2 separate regions of the Homo sapiens genome follow, and region 2 is linked to region 1. The links are contacts of gene promoters, found by promoter capture Hi-C in blood cells and fetal thymus (Javierre and others, 2016). All regions are on one chromosome and are shown on one strand. Each heading gives the region's core, a stretch centred on a gene start or on the middle of the fragment in contact. The rest is flanking DNA. Distances are from core to core; before and after follow the strand shown. Region 1 holds the start of PPID (peptidylprolyl isomerase D). Region 2 holds the start of SPATA4 (spermatogenesis associated 4).

The links. The method cuts DNA at HindIII sites, captures the fragments that hold promoters and counts their contacts. A CHiCAGO score of 5 or more calls a contact.
Region 2: a contact is called between a fragment that was not itself captured here and the fragment with the promoter of PPID in region 1, in 1 of 17 cell types (non-activated CD4 T cells). The highest score is 7.3, in non-activated CD4 T cells.

Annotation. Positions count from the first base shown.
Region 1 is chr4:158,722,100-158,724,799 of GRCh38, reverse strand. PPID (peptidylprolyl isomerase D) reads left to right here and starts at 1,404. Exons shown (of 10, transcript NM_005038.3): 1 at 1,404-1,596. The coding sequence starts at 1,512. RefSeq lists enhancers at 826-1,410, 1,298-1,777, 1,411-1,994. The HindIII fragment of the contact is 3,604 bases long and covers 1-2,700 here.
Region 2 is chr4:176,195,514-176,198,257 of GRCh38, reverse strand. SPATA4 (spermatogenesis associated 4) reads left to right here and starts at 2,673. Exons shown (of 6, transcript NM_144644.4): 1 at 2,673-2,744. The coding sequence starts at 2,696. The HindIII fragment of the contact is 973 bases long and covers 1,008-1,980 here.

The DNA.
Region 1 (2,700 bases), core at 155-2,654:
TATAACATCACAGGCAAATTCAAATTGAGAATAGGAATCAGTTGTTCTTTAACCGTAACCCTTCTAACTTTTACTTATCCTAAGACCGGGTAGCAAGTAGGGCAGGAGCCTTCATCTAGAGGGATGGTGACAGCTCTGATAGGGGAAAATTAGCACTGGTCTTTCCTTCCAAAAAGCCACTCTGGCTGCTGCTGTTGACACAAGGCTCCTGGCTTTTGAGACATTATTTGAGTGCTGGATTCCAATACTTTTTACTTTCTCATAAGAAAAAAAAATGTGAAGCATCTAAGGATATCTCCTGCCTTATTGATAAAGTAAGCCTCAGGCTGAATCCAAATTGCTGAGCTCCAATAGAACTACAGGGCAAAGCATCTACACAGGGAATTGCCACTCTTCTCCAAAATTAGGCTTTATTAAGAGGCAAGGCTATGTTCTCCTCATATATATGTGTGTGTGTGTGTGTGTGTGTGTGTGTGTGTGTGTGTGTAAAAAGTAAATGTTTTACACAGATCCCCATAAGGGAAAAGTGGGCTATAGTAATACAGTATTTTTTTGTTTTTCTTTTTTTTGGGGGGGGGGGGGACAGTTTCGCTCTGTCACCCAGTCTGGAGTACAGTGGCGCGATCTCGGTTCACTGCAACCGCCGCCTCCCGGGTTCAAGCGATTCTCCTGCCTCAGCCTCCCGAGTAGCTGGGACTACAGGCAAGCACCACCACGCCCGGGTGATTTTTTTTTTTTTTATTTTTAGTAGAGACGGGTTTCATCATGTTGGTCAGGCTGGTCTCGAACTCCTGACCTCAAATGATCCGCCCGCCTCGGCCTCCCAATGTGCTGGGACTACAGGCGTGAGCCACCGCGCCCCGCCAAATACAGTTTTATCAGGAATCAAAACTGTGCTCTCTTCTGGACTCTCAGCTTTAGCTGTTTGGAGCGTTTAGTCTAAGCCTTACCACTTACATTGTAATGTGAAGATCAAATTGTAACGACATGGCAATAATAAGGCTCCTATTGGTTGGGTACCACCAGTTTATGCCAGGCATTGTACTGATTCATGTCTTTAATCCTCAAAACGACCTTCCGAGGTCAGCGTTTTTATTCTTTTTCCAGAGGAGCAAACTGAGTTTCTGAGAAGTCACACCCAACTTGGTGGCAGAGCTGACGCTGGCATGGGGTTGACTCCAAAGCTCTCTACGCCACGAGGGTGGGAAAGACAACGAAACACAAGCGAGAAGAATAATGAGAACTGGGATCGCAACTTCATTAAATGAGAAGCCAGGAACAGGTGGCGGAGGGCACGCGGTTCGCTGCACGGAGTCGCTCAGGCTCTTTGAAACACCGCGCGGGGGAGCGGGGCGGTGCCGGAAGTCAGGCCATGGCTTCCGGTTCTTGCGTCGGAAGTGGCCGGTCAGCGTCGCTGCCGGTCTCCGGCGGAGACGGACTCTGGAGTTTGGGCGGCCCGGGCGGCCACTAGGTACTCTGATATTCCGTACTAAACACGTCTGCAAGTCAAGATGTCGCACCCGTCCCCCCAAGCCAAGCCCTCCAACCCCAGTAACCCTCGAGTCTTCTTTGACGTGGACATCGGAGGGGAGCGAGGTGAGCGGAGTCTGACGCTCGCGGAAAAGCCCCGAGGAGGCGGGGGTTCCCGGGATTTGGGGGATTCCAAGGGCGGAATGCGGCTCCGGCCGGTGACTGCTCAGTTTCGCGGAGGGGATGGCTGCCTAGGCTGGTCCGCCGGAGCAGGCCCGGAGATCTAGGGCTAGATCGATCCAGCGCCCTTGTATCAATGCCATCGGTGGTGCGGAAGTTTCTGGAAATTTCTAGTTCGGGAATTGTGGCGTCCTTTAGGTTTGCCTCCTGATTTGGTGGCACTTCCACGCCACCTTTGCACTACCAAGTTAGCATGAAATATTTTATGTTTGCAATGGGACAGTTCGGAAAGCATATCCTGGGATATGCGTCTGCTGGGCCCCAGGAAACTATATTTGCCACATGAGATAATATATCAGCACGTGCTGTGTTATTTATACGTTAAAGGGACTTGTTTGCTCATTGCTTTTGCCTTATTACTGATTCTTAATTTAGAGGTCCGTTCAGATGAGCAAACATTTTCTCTTAATTTGCCATTGGGAAAATGCGCTCAACGTAGTGATGGTGTTGCCTAGGTTACATAGCCGCTCAGAAGTTCCTAAGGCCTGGTGAATTAGGGAGCGTGTTGCTTTGTAACTGGATTGGCCTTGTTCTGGAACACGTTGGAATTGCTGGCCAGGCAATGTGTTTGAATGCATGTACAGGACACACACACGTTTACACGTACATTCAGTTTGTTGCAACTAGCTAGGGCTAGGTTTAATCTCACCTGTCTTAGCTGCTATCTAGAGGAGGAATTTTTACAGCTTTTGCTTCAGAGGTTGCATGAGGCAGTTTGCTCAGAGCACAAAGGCTGCAGGTATACGTAACACGTGGCAAGTCCGCCCACCCAAAGACTGTTTAATTTTCTCCCGTTGGTTGCTTGGTGATTGGAAATTCTCAGTACCTCTTGAAGAAATTACTCAGGATTTAAAACTATTTGTATTTAATGATATCTCTTACATGGTGCTAATCTTTTGGCTACTATAATTGGTTATGATCCTTAGTGTAATGTTTCAAATCTGTTTATATACATACATGACAGTAGGTAGACTAAATTTGAATATTAGA
Region 2 (2,744 bases), core at 245-2,744, about 17 Mb before region 1:
TTCACTTGAGTCCAGGAGGTCAAGGCTGCAGTGAGCCCTGAGCACGCCACCGCACTCCAGCCTGCGCAACAGCATGACTCTGTCTCAAAAACAAAAACAAATAAACCCTAACCTATAGATCTAACCTACCTCTCTAGCCATTATCATCTAAACCTTTGGTTGACAATGTCTCTTTGGTTGATAATGCCTAAACACTTTCTCTAACCCTAATGGGTTCTGTTCTTTCCTAAAACTCATTTAAAAAACCCCTCATATTTCTATGCAATTGCTCCCATTAGTCACTCTGTGTGAGATTGCCCCTTCATCATCCAAATAAATTTCCAAGATCACCTTTGAAGCAATCATCTATGCTTACTGAGCACTACGTGCTGCACATTGTTTTAGGCTCTTTATAGATTTCACTTATTTAATCTCTACAGCTCTGTGGTGTATCCTATTTATTTCCATATTTTACAAATACAAATGTTAAATAACTTGCCCAAAGTCATATAGCTAATAAAAGGTAGTGTGAACCCAGAAACTCTGAGACAGGTCTCAGTTAATTTAGAAAGTTTATTTTGCCAAGGTTGAGGATGAGCACCCGTGACACAGCCTTAGGAGGTCCTGACATGTGCCCAAGGTGGTCAGGGCAGTTTGGTTTTATACATTTTAGGGAGACATGAGACTTCAGTCGACATGTGGAAGATGAACATTGATTTGGTCTGGAAAAGGTGGGACAACTAGAAGCAAAGGCAGGACAACTCAAGCAGGGAGGGGGCTTCCAGGTCATAGGTAGATGGGAGACAAATGGTTGCATTCTGTTGAGTTTCTGATGAGCCTTTCCAGAGTAGGCAATCAGGTATGCATTTAGCTCAGTGAGCTAAGCGGTGACTTTGAATAGAATAGGAGGCAGGTTTGCCCTAAGCAGTTCCCACTTTGACTTTTCCCTTTAGCTTAGTGATTTGGGGGAGGTGGGGGGGGTCCCAAGATTTAATTTCCTTTCACAGTAGAAATGGCTATTCAAAGCTTTCATCTTAAAAATCAGCTTAAAATACCACCTTCTAAGATCCAAATTAATGGTCATCTCTTTTGAGAGGACTTCTTACACTCTCCCAGGCCAAAGTATTTGCTTCCTTTCTGGTGCTAACATATTTTTACCATGGCAGAGCTTTTCAGTGTATGTAATCTTTTCACTGATATTTCTATCTCTGAATCTCTTATAAATGATCTGCCGCACAGAGCTGTCCAATCGAAATTCCTGTAGTGATGGAACAGTGCTGTGTCTGTCCTACCCAACATGGCAGCCACTAGCTACATATGGCTATTGAGCAGGTAAAATGTAGCCAGTGGAACTGAGTTTATTTAAATTTAAGTTTAAATAGCCACATGTGGCTAGTGGCTACCATATTGGATGGTAAAGATCTAGCACATACTCCAGGATAGTTCCTCAGAAAAGGTTTACAGAATGAATGAATCATTCATTAAAACTTTTTTAGCCTAACAGAAAACACTTACATAGCTTCAGTTTTGGTTTTCTTTTTTAACCACATACAGAATACACTGGTTTACTTTATTAATAAGCATGTATATGAATAAACATTAAAAATATTACATAGTATCATTATCAAGATCTATCCCATATTTTACCATGTGTATGTATCCACAGGGCCTGTCACCTGGCTCTCTGCAGCCTCAAGTTCCTGAGCTCAAGCAATCCTCCCACCTCAGCATCTGGAGTACTTGAGAGTACAGGTGTGCACCACCACACCCAGCTATTTTGTTTGTTTGTTTGTTTTGTAGCGAAAGTCTCTCCACCTTGTGTTGCCCAGGCTGGTCTTGAACTCCTGAGCTCAAACGATCCTCCCGCCTCCACCACCCAAAGTGCTGGGATTACAGGCATGACCCACTGTGCCCTGCCAAGCAAAAAAAAACAAAAAACAAAAAACAAAAAACAAAAAACTGTGGCTGTAAAAATTTTTAATGGATTTTAATAATTAAGCTTACATATTTATAATTGCCTATGCCAACTTTGCAGTTGTTTTCATTGTGTTCAGATAGATCCCAAGTGACTAGATGAATGCGTGGCACATAATATGGACTCAATACATATTTGTTGAATTAATGAAGGAATTATGCCTACTAGGAGATTTTAATTAAGTGTGAAAATCTAACCTACACATCGTTTTCAAATATTAATGTTTACAAATACTTAATGCAATAATTAAGGAAATAGTTATGTTAAATTTTGTGGACATTCATTTCCATTTCAAAGATTTTTTTCCCCCATCTCTTCCAATTCCCAAACAAAAACTGTCCTTGGCCTCTGGAGTCTTCTCACACCACTCCTCAAACTAGACGACTGAAAATAGGCCTTTGGCTGGGCAGAAACCAACAATATTTAAAATACAAAACTTATGAACGATGACATAAGAAAAAAAAAGCTCTAAATAGGTTAACAGTGAGGCCAACTAAATCTGAGACTGAAAGCGCTCCCCAGACCGCAGCCACACCACTGGGACCCCAGCTTTGCCTCCCTCGATACCCGGCCCCGCGGTCCAAAATCTGAGTAAAGCGGAAGTACGGGCGGCTGCTGCGGCGCTTGCGCAGGCGCTGAGGTCTCGCCCCATAAGACTCCGCCCCGCCCCACGAGACCGCGCCGCCAGCAATAAGGCCCAGCCCCGCCTTCTGCTGTTGCCGCAGCAACCCAGAAAGCGTCATGGCTGCCGCCGGCCAGGAAAAAGGGTATTTGACACAGACTGCGGCAG